Regions from separate parts of the Homo sapiens genome. Here region 1 is linked to region 2. The links are contacts of gene promoters, found by promoter capture Hi-C in human tissues and cell types (Jung and others, 2019). All regions are on one chromosome and are shown on one strand. Each heading gives the region's core, a stretch centred on a gene start or on the middle of the fragment in contact. The rest is flanking DNA. Distances are from core to core; before and after follow the strand shown.

Region 1 (7,046 bases), core at 576-3,075, 100 kb after region 2:
TGCAACCTCTGACTCCTGGGTTCAAGCGATTCTAGTGTCTCAGCCTCCCAAGGAGCTGGGATTCCAAGCATGTGCCACCACACCTGTGGCTAATTTTTGTAATTTTAGTAGAGACAGGGTTTCGGCATGTTGGTCAGGCTGGTCTTGAACTCCTGACCACAGGTGATCCACCTGCCTTGGCCTCCCAAAGTGCTGGGATTACAAGCGTTAGCCACCATGCCTAGCTCAAATTGCACTTTTGAAAGGTTTGGGCCGGTCGTGGTGGTTCACGCCTGTAATCGCAGCACTTTGGGAGGCTGAGGCAGACAGATCACGAGGTCAGGAGATCGAGACCATCCTGGCTAACACGGTGAAACTCCGTCTCTACTAAAATACAAATAATTAGCTGGGCATGGTGGTGGGCGCCTATAGTCCCAGCTACTAGAGAGGCTGAGGCAGGAGAACAGCGTGAACCTGGGAGGCGGAGCTTGCAGTGATCCGAGATTGCGCCACTGCACTCCAGCCTGGGTGAGTACGAGACTCTGTCTCAAAAATAAATAAATAAATAAAGGTTTGCAGGCCTTGTGCAGTGATTCACACCTGTAATCCCAGCACTATGGGAGGCCAAGGTGGGTCGGGTCACAAGGTCAGGAGTTCAAGGCCAGCCTGACCAACATGGTGAAACCCCGTCTCTACTAAAAATACAAAAAAATTAGCCGGGCTACAGGGCGTGGTGGCACATGCCTGGAATCCCAGCTAATCAGGAGGCTAGGGCAGGGGAATCGCTTGAACCTGGGAGCTGGAGGTTGCAGTGAGCCAAGATGGTGCCACTGCACTCCAGCCTGGGCAACACAGCGAGACTCCATCTCAAAAAAAAAAAAAAAGGTTTGTAGATCAACTTGGATTTAGGGATGATAATTCTTCAAAGCCAAGGAAAACATGAAATTTGTTTTGCTCAATGCACGAGATAAAAACTGCTACCACTTTCGCCACTCACCTTCTCTTGGGTTCTTGCAGAATGAACAGGAAGATCGGTGCCCACCAATGTTTGCCTTACACTGTAAGGAAGAAGGAAATCAATTTGACTGAAAACATTTTTAAAAATCTTATGTATATCTAACAAAGTGAAACCCCCCAAAAATGAAAGAAACAAGCCATATCCCAGATCCCCTCAAAGCTTAAAAAAAGAATCTGATATTCCCCACTGATTAGAGCTGGCAGATGGGATCTGATGAGCTACTGTTTGAGAGCTACCTTATAACAAGGCATCTGGGACTTTGGTGCAGCCCAAATGCCTTTGCCCTGGATAAAGATTCCTATAGGAAATATGCCTAGAAAACTACTGTTACATGGTTTATAGAATATTATTGTCCCAAAGCCATTTACAGTCTGCACCCAAAACTTGGGCCTGAACTGACTATGAGATCCCCATTCACATTTGGCTAGAACTGAGAATTCAGTTATCAACTCCTTTCTCAAACACTGATAATGAGGTACAAGGTAGGAGGAAGAGATACAGATAGTGTCTCTGGCAGCTATCTAAAAGACATTGAAAGGGAACATTCACTAGCCCAGAATAAGGTAAGAGACATTTTTAATGTGAATGTAATTATTTTTGTCTGAACATGTGAACAAAAAGTCAAGCACACTGCCCAACCCCGAAATCCCTGAACTTTTGCCACTGAGCTTCCAAATGCCATGGGGGCAGAAACTTGGTTGGCAGGAAATAAAAGAGTAAGAACTATAAAGAGGATGGTATTTGAGGAGGGCCTTATAGGGCGAGTAAAGGTCTGCCAGATGGAGTTGAGGAGAAAACAATAACAATAGTAGCAGTGGCTAATTCTTTTTTTTTTTTTCTTTTGAGACGGAGTTTCACTCTTGTTGCCCAGGCTGGAGTGCAACGGCATGATCTCGGCTTACCACAACCTCCACCTCCCGGGTTCAAGCGATTCTCCTGCCTCAGCCTCCCGAGTAGCCGGGATTACAGGCATGTGCCACTACACCTGGCTAATTTTGTATTTTTAGTAGAGGCAGGGTTTCTCCATGTTGGTCAGGCTGGTCTCGAACTCCCGACCTCAGGTGATCTGCCCGCCTCGGCCTCCCAAATTGCTGGGATTATAGGTGTGAGTCACTGCGCCCAGCCGGCTAATTCTTAAATAGTACATACCATGTATTTGGCCTACTGTATATGTCATCACTTATTGATCCTGACAACCCCAATAAACTTCATGAAATGGGTACTCTTATCTCCTCATTTTGTAGATGAGGAAACTGAGGCCTAGAGAGGTTAACTCACTTGAGGAAGATCACTACAGTCAGTTATTTCATTGTTCCCTTCCCTATAAACAGATTATAAACACACACACACACACACACACACACACACACACACACACACACACACACCCCTGCCCACTGCCAAATGGCTGTTATGCCTTCCCACAGGGTGAGTATACTTCCTCTCTCCATTGTCAGCCTTGGCCATGTGCCTTCCTTGCTTTCACCAATAAAACATGAGTGAACATGACCTACACTAGGTCTAAGAGAAGCCTTAGGAGCCACTGCTTGCGTGAATGAACCTCTCTCTCCCTTAGCCAGAGGGACACTGCCCCATATTGAGACTGTTTCTTCCGCCTGGGTCCTGGGATGAGAAGCCACGTGGAACAGAACTGTAGCAAACAACCCATAGTCCCTGACATGTAATGTGAGTGAAGAATATGCTTGCTGTTTTAAGCTACTGGGATTGGAGAGTTGTTACTACAGGAGAGCTGCTGTGGTAACTGGTGCTATTTGTAAACATATAGATCAACAGAATAAAACTGAGAATCTAGGAATAAACCTATAGATTATGGTCAACTGATTTCTAACAATGGGGAAAGTGCCAATGGGGAAAGAATAGTCTCTTCAACAAATGGTGCTGGGACAACTGAGTATATACATGCCAACGAATAAAGTATGTGACACTTCAGTTAGTGAGTGGCAGTTAGGATCCTAACCTTAGTAGGTATAATTTAAATAGCATAAAACAGGCCTGGCATGATGGCTCATGCCAGTAATCCCAGTACTTTGGGAGGCCGAGGAAGTTGGATCATTTCGGGCCAGGAGTTCAAGACCAGCCTAGCCAACATGGAGAAACCTCATCTCTATTAAAAATACAAAAATTAGCTGGGGATGGTGGCACACGCCTGTAATCCCAGCTACTTGGGAGGCTGAGGCACGAGAATCACTTGAACCTGGGAGGTGGAGGTTGTCGTGAGCCGAGATTGTGCCACTGCAATCCAGCCTGGGTGACAAACCAAGACTCTCTCTTAAAAACAAAAACAAACCCCATAAAGTTTACCTATTTTATGTGTACAATTCAATGATTTTTAGTAAATGTATAGTGCAACCATCACCATAATCTAATTCTGAAACATTTTCATCACCCCAAAAGAAATCTAGTGGAGTTACCTCCCCCATTCTTACCCCTAGGGACATGGAATTGTGCAATGTATGGTCTTCTGTGTCTGGCATAGTATTTTCAAGGTTCATCTAGGTTGTAACATGCATCAGTACTTCATTCCTTTTCATTGTCAAATAGCATTTCATTGTATGGATATGCCAACTTGTTCATCCATCCATCAGCCAATGGACATTTTGGTTATTTCCATTTTTTGGCTATTATGAATAATACCGCCATTAGCATTTGTTTTAATTACAAAAAAATTTTAATAGGTACATAATAAACTTAAAATTTTTCTTTTTTGTTTTTGAGATGGAGTTTCACTCTTGATGTCCAGGCTGGAGTGCAATAGTGCAATTTCAGCTCACCGCAACCTCTGCCTCCCAGGTTCAAGTGATTCTCCTGCCTCGGCCTCCCAAGTAGCTGGGATTACAGGCATGTGCCACCATGCCCAGCTAACTTTGTATTTTTAATAGAGATGGGGTTTCTCCATGTTGGTCAGGCTGATCTCCAACTCCCGACCTCAGATGATCCGCCTGCCTCGGCCTCCCAAAGTGCTGGGATTATAGGCGTGAGCCACCACACCCAGCTAAAAAAAATTTTGAGACAAGGTCTTGCTCTGTCACCCAGGATGGAGTACTGAAGTACAGTGGCACTATCATAGCTCACTGATGCCTCGACCTCCTGGGCTCAGGTGATCCTCCCACCTCAGCCTGCTTAGTAGCCGCGATCATAGGCATGCACCACCACACCCAGTTAAATTTTGTATTTTTTGTAGAGATGGGGTTTTGCCATGTTGCCCAGGCTGGTCTCGAACTCCTGGGCTCAAGTGATCTGCCCACTTTAGCCTCCCAAAGTGTTGGGATTACAGCCATGAGCCACACCTTATCTCTCTCTCTCTCTTTTTTTTTCTTTAGAAAGGATACTCTCAAGAAAGTGAAAGATAACACATAGAAAATATTTATAAATCATATATCTGATAAGGGATTAATATCCAGAAAATATAAAGTACTCTTATAACTCAACAACAAAAATACATGCAAATCAATTCCAAAGGGCAGAGGACTTGGTTGAACATTTCTCCAAAGGAGGTATACAAATGGCCAACAAACACATGAAAAAAAACCCTCAAAGTCATTAGGAAAATGCAAATCAAAACCACAATGAGATATTATTTCATACCCATTAGGATGGCTATTATCAAATAAAGGGAAAAGAACAAATGTTGGCAAGCAGGTGGAGAAATGAAGCCCTTACATATTGCTGGAATATAAAATGGTACAGCTGTGGTCTATGAAAAGGTTTGCTAATAAAATAAAAGAAATACAGTTTGATGGTTCCTCAAAGAGTTAAATATAAAATTACCATATGACTCAGCAATTCCACTCCTGGATACATACCCCCAAATAACTGAAAACAGCTGTTCAAACAAAAACTAGCACACAAAGGTTCTATTATTCACCAAAGTCAGGGTAGAAACAACCCAAATGTCCATCAATTGAGGAATGGATGAACAAAATGTGATATATTCATATTATTTAGCCACAAAAAGAAATGAGGTACTGATAAATACTGCAACATACATGAACTCTGAAAACATGCTAGGTGAAAGGCCAACAGAAAAGTTTACATATTTTGATTCCATTTATATGAAATATCCGGAATAGGCAAATCCATGGAGATAGAAAAAAGATTAATGGTTTCTGGGGACTGGGGGAAGAAGAAGTGGGAAGTTACTGATTAATGATAAGAGGTTTCCTTTTGAGGGTTTAAAAAAGATCTGAGGCTAGATATGGCAGCTCACACCTGTAATCCCAGAACTTCGGGAGGCCAAGGTGAGAGGATCGCTTGAGCACAGGAGGTCAAGGGTACAGTGAGCCATGATCACATCACTGTACTCCAGCTTGAGAAACAAGAGTGAGATCCTGTCTCAAAAAAAAGACAGAAAAAAAAAATTTCTGGAACTAACCTGGACATGATGGCACCTATAGTCCCAGCTATTTGGGAGGTTGAGGTGAGAGGATGACTTGAGCCAGGGACTGTGAGACCAGCCTGGGCAACATAGTGAGATCCCATCTCTTATTTAAAAAAAAAAAAAAAAGAAGTTCTAGGAAGTAGTGTTGATAGCTGCACAACATTGTGAAGGTACTTAATGTCACTGAATTAATGCTTCAAAATGGTTAAAATGGCAAATGTAATGTTACATGTATTTTATCTCAATAAAAGGAAACGAAATATCTTCCTAAAATGACACCATAAGGGAGTATATCCATGAAATATGAGTACTTTGGCTAATAACAATCATAGCTCTTCAAGTTGTATTCTACCGAGACTAACACAATGTCAATTCTACCGAGACTAACAAATGTCAAGCTAAAGTCTTTACTAAATTTTTTCAAGTACTGTAACATTTTTAGTGTGTCGGGGCTCAGAAACTTTATATATTTTTCATAATTATTTTTGATACTAAGTAGTAGCAATGAAAACAAATTATATTTTCATGCTCACTGCAATCAAACTGGACCTTTAAAGAGTATAGCCGGCTGGGTGCCGTGGCTCAAGCCTGTAATCTCAATACTTTGGGAGGCCGAGGTGGGTGGATAATGAGGTCAGGAGTTCAAGACCAGCCTGGCCAAGATGGTGAAACCCCATCTCTACTAAAAACTACAAAAAAATTAGCTGAGCATGGTGGCACACAACTGTAATCCTAGCTACTCGGGAGGCTGGGGCAGGAGAATCGTTTGAACCCGGGTGGCAGAGGTTGTAGTGAGCTGAGATCGCGCCACTGCACTCCAGCCTGGGCGACAGAGCAAGACTCTGTCTCAAAATAAATAAATAAATAAATAAACAGGCCAGCGCGGTGGCTCATGCCTATAATCCCAGCACTTTGGGAGGCTGAGGCAGGTGGATCACTTGAGGTCGGAGTTCAAGACCAGCCTGGCCAACATGGTGAAACCCCATCTCTACTAAAAATACAAAAATCAGGCAGGTGAGGTGGCAAGTGCCTGTAATCCCAGCTACTCGGGAGGCTGAGGCAGCAGAATCACTGGAACCCAGGAGCCAGAGGTTGTAGTGAGTGGAAATCACGCCATTGCACTCTAGCCTGGGCAACAGAATGAGATTCCGTTTCAAAAAAAAAGAGTATAGCCTAAAATTTTAAATATCCCACTCTAAGAGAATATGGAGTTTAATAGAGGTAAAATGCCATGGTGTCTGAAGTTCTATACCCTTGGAAACCCAAGAATATCCAAAAAATGTACGACTCCCAAAGAACTAGTCTCTCCAAACCTACTTTTCCAACCAAGAATTCCTTTATGACCACCCCCAGGAGAGGTGAGAAGATATTATATGTCAAGGAACTGTTATTTTTATAACTGATAGAAATAATGGCACATGTCCTTGGGAAAGTGTCTCCAATTGCAGGTCCAGAACTCTCTATGGCCACATGTAGCAGCTGGGAAGGAGAAATTATGAATGACCTTGTCTTGACCTCCTCCTGTTCAACTGAAGTGACCTGAGGAAGAAGAGCTTTGTCCTTGGGAATGCATGTTAGCAGGCAGCCTTCCTAGAGATATGGAGGAGCTGTTATTCCAGATACTTACTTCTAAAGAAAGGGATTCTTGGT
Region 2 (6,456 bases), core at 2,164-4,663:
CAGCACCAGTTGTCAGAACATATTGCTCCCTCCCGGCACAAACCAGCGCCAACTCCTACCACCACCCCCAACCGGATGCACTGCGGGTGGGGGCATCGAGACTGAAAATGTGAGCCCCATCCCCCAGATCTGCCCTGTGTACTCCCTTCTTCCGTGGCAGGCAGGACCCCAGGCCCATCTCTAGGATGCTGGGATGGGAGTTGGCAGTACTATGGCCTGGGACTCCCCTGCCATAGCTGCTCAATGCTGAGGCAAAGCCCAGGCTCCAGTCTGACTCTTAGGCCCCACTCATTAGACCCTGATGACATCCCTAGACCCACCTCCCCCAGCCCTGGCCTCTCCTGCCAAGGCAAACCACTCATGGCTCCTCAGACAGGAAGTGCAGCTTCAGCCTCTTGGCCCACTCCTTACGCGGTACCCTCTGTGTGAATGTTCTCTCCCGAGGGCCTGGCACACCGCTCATGGTCCTTCCAGATCCCCTGTCATAGATGCTGCCTCCTGGGGAGGCTAGCTGGGGGATGGGGGAATCAGAACCAGCCCCTCCTCAGGTCTGGGAGGCACAAAGCTAGTGCTGACTGAATGGCAGGCTCTGAGAAGTGGGGGCAGGTGGGAGAAATGGCTGTGCAGCCACCGTCACCCTCAAGGTGCACCTGGGAGGCCCCTGATAACAGCTGTGGATATGCACACGTTCACACTTGCAGGCCCACACACGTCCTTACAAGCATGAGTTTGCTCAAGAACTTGACCTGCTAGTGGGGTGGGGCTCAGGGGAGCTGGGAGATACTGTCCTGGCGCAAGATGCCGTCTGAGTCCCTCAGAGAGCTTCGATACTATGTAACGGGGGCTCCTGTCAACCTGCCTCCCGCCTCCCCCCTCCCCATGACCTCATTTTTTCCTTCATCCATGTTCATGGTGACAAAGTCAGTGTCACCAAGGACAGGGTTGGAGTCACCCAATGTGTCCAGAGAGGTGGGGAGTCTTTCTACTGGGTCCCTACAGGGACTTCCCATCCAAATGCTTTGGCCTTTTAAAGAGGTGAATGGGGAGGGGCTCAAGTTTGCTGGGGCCTCAGTCTCAAGTCCAGGTCCCCTCTTGGACAGCCTGGCAGGTGGGGGAAAGAAGGAGAGGGAAGGAAGAAAAGGAGAAGAAGGACAGAGAGGGAAAGAAAGGGCAAACCCACAGTGCCTTCCCCTCTGCCAGTCCCGAGATGCCTGTCACCCAGCCCCAGCCCCAGAAAAGCCCCCAAGTCACACCAAGCCCAGGTCAGTGGACAGAGGAAGAACAGCCACCGCCACCTGGGAGCCCACCAGGAAGAAAGCAGAGAAGGAGGGAAGGAAGGCTGGTGGGAGGGAGCAAGGGAGGGAGGCAGGCGGGAGGGAGGAGGAGAGAGGGAGGAGAGAGGGAGGGACGGAGGAGAGACGCTTGAACAAAGAAACGAGGAGCCGGGGCTGGCAAGGGGTGCAGGGAAGAGGCGGCCAGAGGAAGGAGTCCGGAGGCACCTGGGATGGGACAGGGGGCCAGGTGGCCAAACTGTACAGCCGGATCCAGACCGCCCAGGCTTGGAGTTGGGGGTGGGGGTGGACAGCCTGTCTCCAGGAAGGGAGGTTGGCTCCTCCGAGCTGAGGACTGCCTGGATGGAAGGGAGGCAGGAACAGGGGCCGTAGGGGAACATGGGGAGATTATCAACAGCACCCCACCCGCTACCCAGCCCCTCAGATTCCCTCCCCCACTTCAACAAGAGCTCTGTCTCCTTCTTGGCTCCTCAGCTTCCCCATCCCCCAACACCTCAAGGACCAGGAAGCAGAGCCACCCCAGCATAGCTGGGACTGAAACCCCCCTTTTGTGGCCAGGGTTTCCCAGTCAAGGTCACCTGAGCCTGGCTCCATCCTCCCCCCAAGGTATGCTGAGCAGCGAGGGGCTGAGGCTGGGTGGGCTGCCGCCTTCTCTCTGGCCCCTGCTTTCTCTCCGGCCCCCACCTCCCCACTTCCGGGCCTGGCTCCTTCGGAGCTGAAGGGGGAGCAGCAGGAGTAGGCATGCCTGTGCCCCCCGCCTGCCTAGACACTATACCCTACGGGGTCCTGGCACACCCCTTGGGTAGCCTGGGAAGAGGCCTCAGCTCCATCCAACTCCCTGGGCTGAGATGGGGCTCCCAACCCCTGGGTGCAGTTTTCCCTTCTCTGCAACTAGGATAACTACTGGGAGACTATCTGGGTGAATTCAGGAGGACAGAGGTCCCCAACCTGGCCCAGCTTCAGGGTGGACATACTGGTGTCTTTGGTTGGCGTCTCCCTTACCTCTCCCAAGCAGTAATGTTCTGGTGGCAAAACACAGCTATCTCAAAAATTAGGAGTTATTTATCCAGTGGGGCCCCCAGCCCCAGCTCCAGCCAACTCCCGCCAGCACTGCCTCATTCCTAGGCCAACTTTGATACCCTCCTGTCCCATCTGCTGGGGGCAACCCCGCCAAGCCCCCGCTGTCCCCTGCCCACTTCACCACTGGGACCCCTGGTTCAAACTAGGGATTGACCGCAGGCTCTCCAAGCTCACCTACACACTACATACAGCCGTGCCCCTAATCCAGGCAGGACTCTGCTGTAAAAGCAAACCCAAGGTGGCAGCTGGGGGTCAAGGGGCTGGCACAATGCTGGGAGAAATGCCTCAGGACTGGAGGTCCTCCCACTCTGCTGATGTGGGAGACCCCCCACGTGGGGACTGCCAGTATACCGCTTCCCTTCGGGCTGGCCAGTCCTCAAGTAGAGACACTGAGGTAGGGCAAGCGCATCTACGGGGAAGAGCGCTGCCTCGGGCGTTAATGGGAGAGAGAGCTGAGGCAGAAGGGGGATCGGAACTCCCGCTCCAGAAGCGTGAAGGTGGGGGTGTATGAGAGCACCCACCCAGAACCTTGCAGGAAAAAGTTGCTTTGCACATGGGTGACCCCGCAGGCCACATCATCCACACATCCATACGCCGCCCCGTAGGTAAGGGGTCCGGGCCTCCAGGACAGGTAAGAATCCCACCCCAGCCTTGTTGCCCCTATGTCCGCGGGCAGCCCCCCGGCTCGACGAGACCCGCTCCCCGGACACTTCTGCGGAGTTGCAGTGCCGCGGGTCCCAGAGGGGTCGCGGGGTGGCCCGGCCGCCTGCCCGCTCCCTCCCGGTTCCCGCTGCACTCACCTCTTCCGCAGCGGCGGGGCCTGGGCGCCCGGGCGGCGGCGGCGGCACGGAGCGGCTCCCGTTGGGCCGGTCCGCGCTAGCGGCCCCCCGGGGCCATGGCCCTGCCCGCGACCTCTCGCCGCTGCGCCTCAGCCGGGATCGGCGCCGCGGCCGCGGCTTAACCGGTTCCGCGGGCTTCGGGCGCGTCAGCAGCCGAGGGCCCGGGCCCCAGCCCGGGCCATGGGAAGGCTCAGGGGCGCTCGGGGCCGCCTCCCCTGGGGTGGGCTGCGGGCGCCCCCTGGCCGGCGCGCCGAGGGCGCATTCCCCAGCGCGGGGCGCGGGCGGTGGCGCGCACTCGGCTTCGAAGCGCTGCGCTCTCCTGGCTGCTGGACCCGGGCCGGGCGGCCGCGCTGGGCTGCACGGTTCCTCGCGGCGTACCCAGGTCCTGCGCTGCGCTCGGGGCTCTCCGGACCGCCGCGGTTCGTTCGCTCGCTCTGGTCTCGCGGCCGCCGGCGGGACGGGGCGCTCAGAGCCGCGCGGGGAGCGCCGGCAATTGGCCGCCCGTGGGCGACATTTGCATAGCGCAGCCCCGCCCCGCCCGGCCCGCCCAGCCCCACCCCCGGGGCGGGACCCGCCCAGCCACCGCCCCGCCCCCGCTCCACCTGTCCGTGGGCCGGGCTCAGGGTTCCCAGGCGGTGGGCACCCCGCGCCGGGGGAGACTAGTCTGCACCCCTCGCCCCCGCCCCCGCTTCGCGGGCGGCGCCCCCGCCCCGCCCTGGCTTTGTCTCTCTGTGAATACACCGCACACATCGCGCCTGGTGTTTACCCGGGCATTCAACTCCCTGGCGAGAAGGGCTGCAGCGCCAGGGAGCAACGAGCCTGCGCTCACCTGAGCACCCCCTTCCGCGTCCCTCATTCCCACTCGCCGCCGGCCGTGCCCCTGGTCCCGTGCGTGGGCCCCGCGGCGCAGGACCCCTGACTGCCCGGGCTGCTCAGCAGGTGGCGGTGCAGCCCCTGGGACGGCTGGCACCGCCGGACCTTCCCGCGGGCTCAGCCTCCAGCCTAGGCCAGGTCGGGGGCAGCCCAGCCACACAGCTCTCTCCAGCCATTCAACGACTCCCCGTGATCGCCTCAATCGCCAGCCCTTATTTCAGGCCAGCAGCTCCCACAGACTCTCCTTATAGTTCCATACCTTAGAGAGGCCAGATCAGCTAGCACCTTCTCTCCTCAAGGGGACATTTGCTTTCAAATGGCCTGGTGATGAGCCAATGGCTCAGCAACTGAGAAGGGCCTACCGTGACCCCAGGAAGGGACCCTCTGCCCAACCCAACTTTCCAAGGTCATGGCCTCACCACCAGGACCACTTCTCAGCCCTGCCCCGGGCACCCTGCGGAGGCTCCCAGGGGCGTTGGCCCTTTGTCCTCTCCTTCATCCTCTTCCTGTTCTGTCTTCTGTGCCCTCCTCTTTCTCCTCTTTCCTTTCTCCTCTTCTCCCTCTGCCTCTCCTTCCTTCTCCCCTCTCTTCTCCCTCTTCCTCTCTCCTCTTCTCCCTCTTTTCCATCTCCCTCCTTTTCCTCCTTCTCCTCTCTTCTCCTGGATTTTTCCTTCTCTGCCCTCTCCTCCTCTCCCTTCTCTTCCTCCACCCCATGCATTTCCTTCTCTTCTTCCTCCTCCTTCTTCCTGCTCTTTACCCTCTTCCTCCTTTCTCTTTTTCTTCTCACTCCTCCTCTCCGCCTTCTTCCTCCTCCCACTTCTCTCCCTGGCTAGCAAGACCTCCAGGAAAAGACCTCTCTCCCTCTGACCCATTGACTGGTTGACTCCAAGTGCAAGGTGGAGCTGGGCACTAGGGATCCTGCTGAGGGTCTCCTGACTCAGGACTTAGAGTGCTGCCTCATGCTCCAAGCACAGGCAGGGCATTTGAGGTGAGCAAACACCATCCTGGAGTTATGGAGCTGCTGTGACAGCACCTGCACCTCTCCCCTTTGTCACGCCTCATTGAAAACACTGTGACAATCCATCTCTCCTCATCCCCACTCATCTGTATGAGGGTCACCCCTGAGGTCACCACCACTGCACCACCATCACCAATACAGCTTAAGCCACCATCTCTATGGCTTCCAACACCATCCCTTCCATCCTCTCACAGCCTCCATGGTCTCCTTATAGCCTGGCCACTTCTATCACTATCTCCAGCATCATTAGCATCATGCTGGTTACCACGGAAGAGCTGTCAGGACTTGCCAGAGACTCCAGTGTACTGGGTTGGGAAGGAAAGAGGCTCAACTGATCTGTTCATGAAGCTCCACTCAGACACACAGAATAGGCCCAGCACACAGAGGCCTTCAATGGCAGGGAGACCAGGGAAGGGGGCCAGGAAGAGGGCAAAGAGCTAGAATTGAGCCTGGCTACATGGGGTGGAATGCCAATTCCTTCCTAAGCAATTCGAGAGGGCTGAATAATCATACAAAAAAAATTGTTATTGCAGCAGTGAATCCACACTGAGCCCTTGCTCTGTGTCAGTGCTGGGGTGAGCATTTTGTATCATCATAATATGTTGTTATAGTTTGTGTGTGTGTGTGCATATACATATCGGCAGACCTCATTTTATTGTGGTTTATTGCGTTTTGCAGATATTGTGTTTTCTGAAGTTGAAGGTTTGTTGCAACTCTGTGTCGAGCAAGTCTATCAGCACCATTTTTCCAACAGCATGTGCTCACTTCATTAGCATTTTTTAGCAATAAAGTATTTTTTAATTAAGATATGTACATTTTTTAGACATAATGCTATCACACACTTAACAGACTACAGTATAGTGTAAACATGACTTTTATATGCACTGGGAAACCAAAAAAATTTGTGAGTTGCTTTATTACAATGTTAGCTTTATTGTGGTGGTCTGGAACCAAACCCGCCATATCTCCGAGGTATATTATATTATTCAGGGGAATATTGTATAGCTTTTCACAATTTTGTCTTCAATTTCAGAGGTCCACAGACCCCTCAAAACCAGCTCTGGATACCAGGTTGGGAGGCATTGCATGCCAGGAAGTTTTGCGGTTATTCACCCCCAGGTGCTTCACAATTGGGCTGAGAAGCAGGCCCTGTTGTCCCCATTGTACAGTTGAGCATGAGGGAGGAGAGTGGGGAGGTAGGGAGGGTTGGGGGAGGCCTGGAGCCACCAGGCTGTGGTGCCTGGAGAAGGCATTTTCAGTGGCTGTGGGAAAGCTCCAGGACAGGAAGGCCAGGCTGCAGGGCCCACATGGAGCCAAGGGCCTGCAACCCTGATAGGCACGCAGGAGCTGGATG

The links. The method cuts DNA at HindIII sites, captures the fragments that hold promoters and counts their contacts. A contact is called where the count stands out against the background at its distance.
Region 1: a fragment that was not itself captured here is called in contact with the fragment with the promoter of SEMA3F in region 2 in 2 of the 25 tissues and cell types used here (bladder and neural progenitor cells).

The regions. Positions count from the first base shown.
Region 1 is chr3:50,048,326-50,055,371 of GRCh38, reverse strand. It overlaps RBM6 (RNA binding motif protein 6), which reads right to left. Exons shown (of 21, transcript NM_005777.3): 8 at 977-1,037. Among named protein-coding and RNA genes, the nearest start is that of RBM5, 37 kb to the left of the region's middle. The HindIII fragment of the contact is 4,814 bases long and covers 1-4,232 here.
Region 2 is chr3:50,152,281-50,158,736 of GRCh38, reverse strand. SEMA3F (semaphorin 3F) reads right to left here and starts at 3,413. Exons shown (of 19, transcript NM_004186.5): 1 at 3,173-3,413. LOC124909484 (basic proline-rich protein-like) reads right to left here and starts at 4,067. Exons shown (of 2, transcript XM_047449434.1): 1 at 4,041-4,067; 2 at 2,948-3,676. The coding sequence starts at 4,067. The coding sequence ends at 2,948. SEMA3F-AS1 (SEMA3F antisense RNA 1) reads left to right here and starts at 2,652. Exons shown (of 4, transcript NR_135301.1): 1 at 2,652-3,003. RefSeq lists silencers at 3,429-3,898, 3,929-4,068, 4,079-4,138. The HindIII fragment of the contact is 29,271 bases long and covers 1-6,456 here.